Regions from separate parts of the Homo sapiens genome. Here region 1 is linked to region 2. Evidence: promoter capture Hi-C in human tissues and cell types (Jung and others, 2019). All regions are on one chromosome and are shown on one strand. The core of a region is centred on a gene start or on the middle of the fragment in contact, and the rest is flanking DNA. Distances in the headings are between cores, read along the strand shown.

What was found. Contacts are between HindIII fragments. The study calls those that stand out against the background at their distance.
Region 1: a fragment that was not itself captured here is called in contact with the fragment with the promoter of SPATA32 in region 2 in 1 of the 25 tissues and cell types used here (dorsolateral prefrontal cortex).

What each region holds. Positions count from the first base shown.
Region 1 is chr17:45,749,504-45,756,232 of GRCh38, reverse strand. The region is part of intron 3 of LINC02210-CRHR1 (LINC02210-CRHR1 readthrough); the gene reads right to left. Among named protein-coding and RNA genes, the nearest start is that of CRHR1, 31 kb to the left of the region's middle. RefSeq lists an enhancer at 3,689-4,600. The HindIII fragment of the contact is 8,319 bases long and covers 1,037-6,729 here.
Region 2 is chr17:45,259,467-45,266,149 of GRCh38, reverse strand. SPATA32 (spermatogenesis associated 32) reads left to right here and starts at 4,056. Exons shown (of 5, transcript NM_152343.3): 1 at 4,056-4,146. The coding sequence starts at 4,134. It overlaps MAP3K14 (mitogen-activated protein kinase kinase kinase 14), which reads left to right. Exons shown (of 16, transcript NM_003954.5): 15 at 887-987; 16 at 1,350-3,031. The coding sequence ends at 1,514. All of the region lies in intron 2 of MAP3K14-AS1 (MAP3K14 antisense RNA 1), which reads right to left. RefSeq lists enhancers at 3,015-3,618, 4,053-4,142, 3,619-4,224 and silencers at 4,173-4,222, 4,293-4,412. The HindIII fragment of the contact is 11,872 bases long and covers 558-6,683 here.

The DNA.
Region 1 (6,729 bases), core at 3,947-6,446, 490 kb before region 2:
TCTGAGACATAACCAATCCCACAAACACCCACTTGAGCCAACTCAAATCTGCTCTCAAATTGGGGTTCTGGGAAGGAGGCACGAGGGAGCTTTTCCTCTAAATTCCAGGGCCACCCCATTCCTGTCAGTCGGGACCTCAGCCGTGGGAGTTAGTGATGCCCATGGTCCTGGGGTCCTCTTCGGTTCCCTTCTTGACCCCAAGCAGCCCCTGGAGTCTGGGAGGGGGCCTCTCTCTCTGCCTGGAAAATCAGCCCCAGGCCCTGAAGTGCCAGAGCTAGGAGGGGCCTTGAGCTCTGTGGTCCAACTCCCTCATTAACAGAGAGAAACTGAGGCCTGGAGAAGCCAGAGACCTGCCCAGGGGTGGGTGCTGGAATCTAATCTCATCCCATGGTTCTTTCTATTTGACACGCTGCCCAGCATGGAGGAGGCGCTCTGTATATACAGGTTGAAAAACTGTATGACCCAATGGATGAATGGATACATGGCTGGGTGGCTGGGCAGATGGTGGATGGATAGGCTGCCTCCTATCTTTAGAAGAGGAGCAAGTACCTCCTCCTGATTTCCTGTGGTGTGGTTAGCTCTGCAGACCATACCTTGGAAATTTATGAATAAACAAAATGATTAGATGCCACCCAGAAGTGTATAACACACTACACAGTGGCGACCAAATTGGCTTTAGGAACAGGAAACTCTGCCAGACCAATTTAATTTTCTCTCCCGTGATAGAATGATGGACCTCATCAGTAAGGGATGGGAAGGCAGCTGTCATCGATCTTGATTTCAGGGCGGCTGTGGGTTCTGTCCTACATGACATTCTCATCAACTTGCCAAGGAAACACTGTCTGTTCCAGCCTCCCCTGGGGATGAATGACTGGCCCCAAGGCTTTATGCCCGAGGCCCTGTCCCCATGTCAACTCCCCATGGGCACCCGGCTCCCATTCAGATGCTGCCTGTGCACACCTGGTCCAGCAAGGGCTGGCCCGAGTGTGCTCACACGCAGAGAACAGGATAATGTCTGGATGCAGATGTGTACACATGAGCATGTGGATAGAGACAGGCGTGCACATGACACACAAATACACACATGTATTTGCAAACATGTGTGTGTTATACCAAGGTCAGCACCCAGGTATCAGCCATACATGAGCCCAAGGCAGCTGCGATTGAGCCTGAGGAAGTGGCGGAGGTGGGAAAGGGTTAGCCAGGGACAGCACAGGGCTGAATTGTTGATCGAGTGCAGATCCACGCTCTAAAGAAGTGCTGTCCGATAGAAACAGAACTCCAGCCGTGTATATAATTTTAAATTTTCCAGTAGCCACATTGAAAAGTAAACAGAAAACAGATGAAATCAATTTTAAGATATATTTTTGCTTATTGTATTAGCTCAATAGATCCTAAATATGATCGTTTCAACATGTAATCAATAAAAATTATTAATGAGAATGTTATTCTTTTTTTTGCTTTCTTTTATACATATGGCAACTATGGGGGCGCTAATTCACACACAAGGATTTCACTGGATAAGCTAGATCTGCAGTTAGATTTTGTTAAATTTACAGTCGAAAAGGTAGGTTCACATACCCAAGTTGTTCCAAACATATTTAAAAGGGTTTTTGTTGTTGTTGTTTGAGACAGGTTCTTGCTCTATCACCCAGGCTAGAGTGCAGTGGCAAAATCATGGCTCACTGCAGACTCAAACTCCTGGTCTCAAGCGATCCTCCCACCTCAGCCTCCCAAGTAGCTGGGACTACATGCGTGCACCACCATGCCTGGCTCATTTTTTTATTTTTTGTAGGAATGAGATCATGCTATGTTGTCCAGGCTGGTCTCAAACTCCTGGCCTCAAGCAATCCTCCCACCTTTTAGGCTACCACACCCAGCCTAAAAGTTTTTCAATAACCGAATTGATTATCAGTTTTAAAATCTAGGTTAATGCAAATCAAATTAAAAGTGTAGTTCCCCAGTGGCACCAGCCCCCTTCCCAGTGTCCCCAGCCACAGGCGGCAGCTGGCTCCCACAGTGGGCAGCGGGTCGGCAGCCTTGAGGGGAAGGGGGGAAGAGAAAGGGTCAAATGGGTGTGGGGGTGGTAGGAGGCTGGGCTTAGGGGAGGTGGGGGCGGGCGATGGGTGGAGTGGAAGGGGAAGGAGGGGAATGAGGGCCCTGCAGAGCTGGAAGCTGCAGGGTTTCCCTATGGCTGCTCCAGGAGCAAAAGGGGGTGGCAAAGAGGCAGAGAGGATGCTGAGGCTGGATGAGCTATTGTTAGCCTCCTGTGGGTATCTCCAGCCCCCAGGACACAGCCCAAAGCCCCTTACCTCTCCGGGAGGAATCCTAGGGCTGCCTATGAGCTTGGCCAGGCTCTGCCCACCTCCTTCGCCACAACTCTTCCCACCTCAGTCCCTACCCACAGGTCCCCCTATCTCCACCTGCCATGTGGGCAAGGTATTGCTGCTCCAGCTCCACTAGAGGGTTGGCTGCCCACACCTGGACGGGCCCTGGTGACTTCAGCACCCTTGGCAGAAATAGGGAATGACAGGGAATTGCCTTGGGGGTGGGTTTAGAGCAGGTTCTGGTTTGAGATGTGCTGGATTTGGGGGGCCTGTGGGAGGTTCTGAGGAGAGTCCAGCAGGTGGCTGGAAACGCTGGACCTGAGTTCTGGAAGACAGGCACGAGGGAGCTCTTCCATGGAGGAAGGCACACAGCCACGAGCACACACGGCTCACTCCTTCCCCCATCCATGCGCACACGGCTCACTCCCTCCCCCATCCATGCGCACACGGCTCACTCCCTCCCCCATCCATGCGCACACGGCTCACTCCTTCCCCCATCCATGCGCACACGGCTCACTCCTTCCCCCATCCATGCGCACACGGCTCACTCCTTCCCCTGTGCAGCCACTTCCTTGCCCCGGCCAGTCTCCCCACACCTGCCCCAGAGGTGGTTACCCAGAATCTTTGTCCCGTCCCGGGGTTCCCCTAGTTCCCCCCCAACCTCAGCAGCAAATCTGCTCTCAAATTGGGGTTCAAAGGGGAAGTGCCCAGGCATTGGGATTGGTCCCAGGGATGGAAGTGCCCAGGCATTGGGATTGGTCCCAGGGATGGGAGTGTCAGCACTTAGGGAGGCCATGGTGGAGGAGTCTGGGGCCAGAGAGGGCAGGTGTGGTCTCAAGGAGAAAGGGTTGGGTCAACAGAGTCCCTGGCCCTGGCATATGTCCCCTCACCCAGTTCTGGTTATCTGTGGATGTACGTATGGCACACATAACCCCAATCTCAGTGCCTTAAAACAATACTTTGCTTTTATCATGTCTCACGATTCTGTGGATCAGGAACCTGGACAGGGCACAGAGGGAATGGCTCCTCTCTGCCCCTGGATGTTTATGGCTGAAGCTCGGATGGCTCAAATGGCTGGGAACAGGAATGGGGGGCCAGACAGGTCTCCACCCTCTTCCCCCTACAGTCTCTCCTCGTGGCCACCTTGGGCTTCCTCACTGCATGGAGGTCTCTGGGTGCCAAGAGTCTCTAGAGTTCCAGGCAGAAGCTGCAAGGTTCTTAGGACGTTGCCTTAGAAATCCTGAACATCACTTCCGCCACATTTTATAGGTTGCGCAAATCACTAGGGAGAAGCCCTGATTCAAGCAGAGGGGAGGCACAGATTCCACCCCTCAACGGGAGGAGTGACAAGTGACACTGAAAAGGAGAGAATGGAAGGCAGCCATGCTGGGATCATGCCACCCCCCGCCAGCTGCCACTCACCTGAGGGCAGCAGCTGTGTGTTTTACCCCCTCTCCCATGTTAGTCAACCTGACAACCTTCCTGTCACTGTCACTGCCTTCTGCATGGAGGCCGCAGCCTCAGTAACATGTCAGAATGCTTGTCTCACCTACTTAGCTGGAAATGTAAACCCTTCAAGGTCGAGACGGTCTCTTTTACGCCTTGCTGTCCTGGCTTTGACATTTTGGGTGTTTTGTTTCCTGAATCAGCGCTCCTCGACTGGACTCATTGGTCTTCTGCACCAGATACCCCCAGCTCCTCAACACATCCTTATTGAGTATCCTGGTCCCTGGCCCTCTGGAGTGGAAAGAGGTCCTAGCACCTCACCACCAGAGCCCAGGTGCTGGCCCAGATGGAGGTGGAGGATGGAGAGGAGCATACCCCAGGGGCTGTGGCCATGGCAGGCCTTGGAGCCCTCGGTGCTGGCGGCCACCTGGATTTATGCCTCTCTTGGGGATATGTGCCCTATGTGTCTACCTGGCCCCCACCGCTGCATTTCAGTGTTGTTGTCCTGGCCTTACAATGCAAACTGTGTTAGAGGATTACACTGTTTCTGGGAGAAAATTTAAAAGAAAAGATAAACAGCAAAAAACAGGGAGGGGACTCATAGTACCTTTAAATAAACTACTTTGTCAAAATATTTCTAAATAATGACGACTAGGATAAATCTACATTCAAGTCCTTGCACAGAAATCCAGGCAGCGGTGTGCTGAGAAGGCGAGGCATCCCAATGTGTTCTTGCCCCCGGCGGAATGCCACAGAACAATGAGGCTGGGCGGTGCAGAGCACAAACTGTTGATGGAAAAGACGATTTCTGCTCAGGAGGGCAGGGGCTTGCCTCTATCTGGGTCCTTTTCATTGCTCTACAAAGAATCCTTTCTTCCTCCCAGGCCGCACTAAGTAATAACAACTGGGGACTTTTCTCACGCCAACTTCTGAGCCGCTTCAAGTGTCATCTGGTTACCCATAAAATTCATACCTGGAATAGTGTCTTTGACCTTGGGCAAGTGTGCGTGTTGCCTGGCTCTTTCGCGGGATTCTGGGAGAGATCTCTCGGAGAGATGATGCTGAAATGTTGGCGGGTCGTGTGTATACTGTGGATTTTGTAGAGTACATAGTTTTTCCTTTTGGCCGCTGTTAGATTGGGGAAACCATGTGTTTCTCAGAAGGAGGAGCACAGGCCCTCTCCCTCCGCATTCCCGGGCACGCTGGCCCGGCTTCTCCAGCGTTTCCCTGCACTACAGGGAGCACCGTGTCCTGTGGGTGCTGCTGTACCTGGGTCTCCACCCACCAGTCTTCCGTCCCTGCAGGTCTTGGGTCCCTGGAATAATTTGCCTTGTCCCCCTCTGGGTTTCTGTGTTCATCTGAGCATGCTTTGCTGCCCTAGCTTTGATAATTTGAGGACTTTGCCTCCAGAATAGGTGCTCTTCACCTGGTACCGGTGGCCTTTGGCCACCCAGCCCCTGAGTGTCACTGTGTCTTACTGAGTGGGACAGTGGCAAGGGCCCAGCCGGCTTGGGAATGGGGGCTGGATCTGAATTCAGTCTCCACCACTCACTGGCTATGGGATCCAGGCAGGGTATTCAAGAAGCCTGGGCTTCTGTCTGCTCATCTCTAAAAAGGGGCTCATAAAATCCTCCTTACAGGGTTGGTGTGAGGATGATGATGCTTGCATGCCAATGGTCTGGCCCTCTGAAAGTGTCCAATAAATGACAGCTCTTGTTCCTCCCCTCGCCTTTACTGCTGAAGGCAGCAGTGGGCAGTCACTCCACACACCCTAACTATTAACTGTCTGGCCCAGGCCTCTGGAAACAAGCGCAACCCAAAGAGGCTAATTGAGAGGGGTGAGGGAGAAGTGATCTAGCCATCATGGAACCCCTATGTCTGGGTATTTTGCTGGGAGCTCCAGTTATCTCATTTAATCCTCAAAGATCCCTAAGAGAGAGGCACTACTACTATGATCATTTCAAAAAAAGAGGGACTTGGGGCTCACGGCAGAAGGTAGGTGTAGACGTAGACGGCTGTAGAGCTGGGATCCAAACCCAAGACTGGAACTGGGACCAAGGTGAAGGTTGGGTTTCAAAGAACTAAGAAGATAACAGGTGACTGGATACAGAATCTACCAACCCCCAGAAATACCCTCCATCTGGAAACAGGATTGAGGTAGGCGGATCCTACAGATGTAAGCAGATTGGCCCCCACTGTAGGGTGGGGCAGGGAGGCAGGCAGGCCTCTGGAGGCCTGTGGGGTCTATGGCACTGTGGCTGGCACAAATTCTACACATAAGGACTTGTTTACCCACCTGCTCTCTCTGCACAGTCTCTCAGAGCAGGGGCATCTGTGCCAGGAGGCAGGAGCAGCAGGCAGTATGGGGCCAATGGAGAGAGGTCCTTCAGCCTCTGGGACAGCACACCATGGCCTGTTCAGTCCTTGCCTGCTACCTGCTTCCCAGTTCCCTGTCCTTCTCCCTTCCATCCTGCAGATATCTCCCCAGCCTCTCTTCTCTCACCAACTCTCTGTACTTCTGACATTATTCCCTCCTTCCTCCCACTGGGATCTGAGGCCCAGAGAAGTGCCTCACTGGTCCGGGCACACAGCGAGTCTACTGCCTGGACCTGCTTTCGGACATGCTGAGATTCCGTCCCCTGCCCCGTGTCCTAGCGGGGCTGCTGCCTCATCCTCCCCCAGAGGCGAGATGGCACAGCCCCTTCAATGACAATGTCTCTCCTCCCATTACCGGGAACAGCCTCACTGACTGGCTGTCATAGAACTTTTGCAGCCTCAGGGGAACATGAGCTATCTCCCATCTCCCCAAGCTGTGAAACTGAAATACAGAAATAAAAGCCTTTCCTCAGGGGCCCTTCATCTCTTGGCAAATCGTGGTTAAGGAGCCCTCTTCCCTTGTCACAACTGCCCGGCTCAGGTTTAAAGCTGAGGGCACAGCAGACAAAGAGGGTAGGAC
Region 2 (6,683 bases), core at 2,807-5,306:
GGATTTGAGGTCAGATGAGAAAGACAACATAAAATTCCTTCGTTTTCAAGCTTGATTGCATAGGTTATGATGTGGCTTTGCTACAACAAGGGCATCATCAGCTTGGAGTTCCCTGGCCCTCTCCAGGGCAAGTGTGACTCATGGCATCAGGGCCCCATGGCTGGCCAAAGGCCACTTCAACTCAGGCAACAATCTAAATTGCCCATAATCTAATTTAAGAATCCTTGTGTTCAGTTCCTTTCTGCTTTGCATCCAAGTTGAAATACTACTTCCCCATAGGAGCCAGCCCCAGCTCTTAGCAATGCACAGGCCAAATCCCAGGTGCTGACGGCCAGGAAGAACTAGCAGGTGTATATAATATGAGGGCTGTTCCAGCCTGAATTTTTTTTTTCTTATAAAAATGCAGCTTTGTGACCAGGTGTGGTGGCCCACACCTGTAATCCCAGCACTTTGGGAGGCCAAGGCAGGTGGATTACATGAGGTCAGGGGTTCGAGACCAGCCTGGCCAACATGGTGAAACCCCGTCTCTACTAAAAATACAAAAATTAGCTGGGTATAGTGGCGCATGCCTGTAATCCCAGCTACTTGAGAGGCTGAGGCAGGAGAATCACTTGAACCCGGGAGGTAAAGGTTGCAGTGAACTGAGATCACGCCACTGCACTCCAGCCAGGGCGACACAGTGAGACTCTGTCTCAAAAACAAAAAAATGCAGCTGTGCTTAGACCAGCCTAAATTTTATCTCTGCTGCTCCATCACAGCCAGACCTGCTCCCCCTACATAGGGCAGAGTGACTTTTAACAAAAACGTTCCCCCAGCCCCTGCCAGGACCCTGGTCCTTGGGGAGCCAGCAGCCGCTCTCCTGACTATCACCTTGTCCGCCTTCTAGGTGTGAAAGTCCAAATACAGTCTCTTAATGGTGAACACCTGCACATCCGGGAGTTCCACCGGGTCAAAGTGGGAGACATCGCCACTGGCATCAGCAGCCAGGTAAGGGGGGCAGGTACACTCTGACGGGCAGAGTCCCAGAAGCCAATGCAGCTGGCCCCACCCTCCAGGAGGAAAGCTTTCAAAGAAGTAGAATGGCACTCTAGGGAATACTTGGAATTGGCCTTCAACGTCCCCCAGGACCTCAAAGCATTTCCCAGGGCCTCAAAGCAAGGCTGGCAGTGGTGACAAAGAGGTCCTCCAGACCTACACTTGAGCCGGGTGGGATTCTCTGAGTCCCGTGGAATGACAGACAGGCAGTGCCCTTAGGGCTGCCGGTCTGGCTGGAAGGAGATGTCTTTACCTTTCTACATGGCTTGAGCCCTATGCCATGATCTCAGCCCACTGGTTTGCTCCACCCTTAGATCCCAGCTGCAGCCTTCAGCTTGGTCACCAAAGACGGGCAGCCTGTTCGCTACGACATGGAGGTGCCAGACTCGGGCATCGACCTGCAGTGCACACTGGCCCCTGATGGCAGCTTCGCCTGGAGCTGGAGGGTCAAGCATGGCCAGCTGGAGAACAGGCCCTAACCCTGCCCTCCACCGCCGGCTCCACACTGCCGGAAGCAGCCTTCCTGCTCGGTGCACGATGCTGCCCTGAAACACAGGCTCAGCCGTTCCCAGGGATCTGCCAGCCCCCGGCTCAGCAGTGGGACCAGGGCCTCGCAGCAGCAAGGTGGGGGCAAGCAGAATGCCTCCCAGGATTTCACACCTGAGCCCTGCCCCACCCTGCTGAGAAAACACTCCGCCACGTGAAGAGACAGAGGAGGATGGCAGGAGTTACCTCGGGAAACAAACAGGATCTTCTCTGCCCTGCTCCAGTCGAGTTGGCCTGACCCGCTTGGATCAGTGACCATTTGCTGGCAGACAGGGGAGAGCAGCTTCCAGCCTGGGTCAGAAGGGGTGGGCGAGCCCCTCGGCCCCTCACCCTCCAGGCTGCTGTGAGAGTGTCAAGTGTGTAAGGGCCCAAACTCAGGTTCAGTGCAGAACCAGGTCAGCAGGTATGCCCGCCCGTAGGTTAAGGGGGCCCTCTAAACCCCTTGCCTGGCCTCACCTGGCCAGCTCACCCCTTTTGGGTGTAGGGGAAAAGAATGCCTGACCCTGGGAAGGCTCCCTGGTAGAATACACCACACTTTTCAGGTTGTTGCAACACAGGTCCTGAGTTGACCTCTGGTTCAGCCAAGGACCAAAGAAGGTGTGTAAGTGAAGTGGTTCTCAGTCCCCAGACATGTGCCCCTTTGCTGCTGGCTACCACTCTTCCCCAGAGCAGCAGGCCCCGAGCCCCTTCAGGCCCAGCACTGCCCCAGACTCGCTGGCACTCAGTTCCCTCATCTGTAAAGGTGAAGGGTGATGCAGGATATGCCTGACAGGAACAGTCTGTGGATGGACATGATCAGTGCTAAGGAAAGCAGCAGAGAGAGACGCTCCGGCGCCCCAGCCCCACTATCAGTGTCCAGCGTGCTGGTTCCCCAGAGCACAGCTCAGCATCACACTGACACTCACCCTGCCCTGCCCCTGGCCAGAGGGTACTGCCGACGGCACTTTGCACTCTGATGACCTCAAAGCACTTTCATGGCTGCCCTCTGGCAGGGCAGGGCAGGGCAGTGACACTGTAGGAGCATAGCAAGCCAGGAGATGGGGTGAAGGGACACAGTCTTGAGCTGTCCACATGCATGTGACTCCTCAAACCTCTTCCAGATTTCTCTAAGAATAGCACCCCCTTCCCCATTGCCCCAGCTTAGCCTCTTCTCCCAGGGGAGCTACTCAGGACTCACGTAGCATTAAATCAGCTGTGAATCGTCAGGGGGTGTCTGCTAGCCTCAACCTCCTGGGGCAGGGGACGCCGAGACTCCGTGGGAGAAGCTCATTCCCACATCTTGCCAAGACAGCCTTTGTCCAGCTGTCCACATTGAGTCAGACTGCTCCCGGGGAGAGAGCCCCGGCCCCCAGCACATAAAGAACTGCAGCCTTGGTACTGCAGAGTCTGGGTTGTAGAGAACTCTTTGTAAGCAATAAAGTTTGGGGTGATGACAAATGTTTCCAGGCCATCGGTGTCCTCTCTCTTGCCTGCCGGCCTGCTGAACCTCACGACCCTAACAGCTGCCTCTCTTTGCCTTCTTGCTGAGATCTTTTCAAGTCCCCCTTGTTTTGGACAAGGACTGTTTCAGCCCTTGAGTGGGGCTGCTTTCCCACCACTCCTCCCAGTGGCTGCTTCTAGTCCCAACGCTGGGCTAGTCATTCAGACCAGTTAGGCAAGATACCTTGCCCGGTGGCATCAGGGAAGTCCCTCGCCAAAATATGCCAGGCTGAGGGGTGGAGGAGGAGGACAACAAAGCCTGCATGCTTTGTGCCACTGCCCAAGTTAGGCAGCCCCCTACCACCAGAAGGGAAATAGGGATGGGTTCTGGGCCCTGACCATCCAGGGATGCCGGATGCACACCACAGGCCCTCCACCCTCCCCTCCTGTCCTTGAGGCCTGGACTCTTAACCCTTTCCGCTGCCTCCTGAGCCCTGCATGGGGCCAGGGATGCCTTTGTGGGCTGAGTTCCTTGGTCATGGAGCTGGGGCACACGGGGTGCTGAGTTCCTTGGTCATGGAGCTGGGGCACACGGGGTGCTGAGTTCCTTGGTCATGGAGCTGGGGCACACGGGGTGCCTTATCGAATCTGGCTCCACACTCCCTGTGTGCACAAGTGTGTGTGCGCGCGGCTTGGGTTGGTTTAGCCGGTTCTTGGAAGGGCCCTGGGACCACGAAAAGGGCGGCAGCCCTGAGCCGCTGGCGTGCAGAGCGGGTGCAAGTCCTGTCCAGCACAGCCAGGCTTACCTGCCGCCTGCCTCTCGCTCTAGGCCCGCTGCGGAAGCGCGAGCCCCACCCCCGAGGTCTTCGGAGAGGAAGGAGTTCTGGCTTCGGGCCCGCAGCCTTCGGAGGACGCCTCACTCGGGCCGTCCCCCGTCCGCCCGCCCGAAACCTAAATGCGGCTCCCTGCCTGTGGGGTCGCGGCGGGGACGTCACAGAGGCGGCGACATCACAGGCACCGGCGCCTCTAATATTTCCAGCGCCCACCAGTCCCTCAGCCAAAGAGCACACTGGAGGCGGAGAGGCAGCATCCACCAGCCCGCTCCCCGCCTCCAGGACAGAGCCTCGGTCTGCATGGGGGTGACAGGTGGGAGCGGCCGAGCGCCCGGGGGCGAGGGTTGGGGCAGGCGGGGAAAGCGAAAGTGAGAGGGGGAGGGGCGCGAAGGGGGCGGTCAGGAATCCGCCCAGGGCCCGTTCCCCTGCTCCCAAACCCCCGGCACCTGAAAGGCAGGTCGACCCGCCGCCAAAGCCCACCCGGTGCCCCTGACTACGGCTCCCAGCCTCAGCCCCTGCGCGGTGCACACCCATGTGCTCTCACGGACACGCATGCGCGCCTTGGAGTAGGGACTGCAGAGTCAGTGGTTCTTGAAGGGGTTCTGAGACCACAGAAGGAGCAATGGCCTTGTGCACAGGAAACGACTCATGAATTATCCTGAACTGCAGATCCAAAAAATCACATCCAGTTGTCCCTCCTTGATGCTTGAGGCTTTGCAGGGAGGAGCGGCAGTCTTCAGCACATTTTTACGGAGCGCTTCGTTGATGCCTTGTACTCTTCTCTGAACCAATGAGCAAAGATGTTTGCCCCCAGTGCCCTGTGTCTCCCCTTCCCATAGGGGCGTCAGATCCCCCACTGAAATGGTGGCTTTCTTTTGGGGATCCTCTCTCCCAGAAGGGCATGGGCCAGCATTAAAAACGGTCAAAAATTAGGTGGGCATGATGGCTCAACGCCTGCAATCCCAACACTTCGGGAGGCAGAGGTGGGAGGATCACATGAGGCCAGGAGTTCAAGATCAGCCTAGGCAACATAGCGAGACTTTGTCCTCTACAGGAAATGTTTAAAATTAGACAGGTGTGGCGGCATGAGCCTGTAGTCCCAGCTACTTGGGAGGCTGAGCTGGGAGGCTCACTGGAGCCCAGGAGTTGCAGTGAGCTATGATGCTGCCACTCCAGCCTGGGCCACAGAGCAAGACCCTGTCAAAAAAAAAAAAAAAAAAACCAGAGGTCGGGTGCAGTGGCTCACGCCTGTAAGGTAAAACGTAGATTAGACAGCCAGGTCTGTCATGGAGAGGATTACACTGATTATTTGAATTGGGCTTTCAGGCATGAGTAGGACTTTGCCAGAAGAAGGCTTTCCAGGTATAAGAAATAGCATTTGCAAAGGCACTGGGTGCAGAAAGGCCTGCGGTACTCTGGGGGTAGCTTCGGCTTAGGGTGAGGGACAGGAAGCTGGATGCCAAGAGATGAAAAATGAAGGTAGAGATCAGACCAAGAGGCCACATGGAGTCTGGGGGTAACCGGAGACAAGTGAGATGTAGCAGGCTCACTCTGAGGTCATTGAAAATCCAGGTTGGAGGGGGACATAGTTGCAGTGGTCCCACTGGAAGACTAAAGAGATTTAAGACAGTGCAGTGAGTAGCATCCCAGAGTTTGGAGCCAGCCAGACCTGCCTTTGGGTCGTGTGCTGCTCTTAATAGCTGCATGACCTCATACACGTTTCCTCATCTGTGAGAGGAGAGCCGTGGCCAACTGGGCATAGGGTAGGTATGAAGACTGAATGTGCAAAGCACTCAGCACCAAGTGCCAAAGGGTAGGAAGTCATGGGTGTGTGCTGGCTCTGGTACTGGGAGATGAGGACAGCATCAGGGGTAGGAGGGCAGTAGCTGCGGAGGGAGGAGGAGTCACAAATGACCCAGGTTTCTCATTTGGGTGAAAGGATGAAGGATGAATAGGGCGAGGAGAGTGGGGTATGGAGAGATGACAGACTAGAAAGGGAGACAGGGGTCAGACAGGCAGAACCGTGGCAGCCACACTTAAGAGTCTGGACATACAAGATATGAATTTGAGGTAAGAAATTAGGCCAGGCATGGTGGCTCACGCCTGTAATCCCAACACTCTGGGAGGCCAAGATGGGAAGATCGCTTGAGCTCAGGAGTTTGAGACCAGCCTGGGCAACATACTGAGACCTCATCTCCTTTTTTTTTTTTTTTTGAGACAGAGTCTTGCTCTGTCACCCAGGCTGGAGTGCAATGGCACCATCTCGGCTCACTGCAACGTCTGCCTCCCGGGCCGAAGCCATCCTCCCTATCAAAACCTAACAAAGACATTACAAGAAAAGAAAATTATACACCGATATCCCTCATGAATATGCATGTGAAAATTCTGAAAAAAAGCCAATCAGATTCAACAACATAGAAAAAGGGTAATATATCACAACCAAATGAGGTTTATCCCAGTAACGCAAGGCTGATTTAACATTTTAAAAAATAAATTTATAGCTGGGCATGGTAGCTCACACCTATAATCTAGCACTTTGGGAGGCCACGGCAGGTGGATAGCTTGAGCCCAGGAGTTCAAGACCAGCCTGGGCAATATAACAAGACCCATCTCTACAAAAAATACAAAAATTAGCTGGGGGTGGTGGTGAACACGTGTAGTCCCAGCTACTCCAGAGGTGAGGTGGAAGGATCACTTGAGACAGGGAGGTTGAGGTTGCTGAAATTGCGCCACTGAACTCCAGCCTGGGCAACAGAGTGAGACCCTGTCTCAAAAAAAACAATGTATTTTACCATAAACAGAATATAAAAATATAAAAGAATTATCACTCAAATAATATAACATTACTCA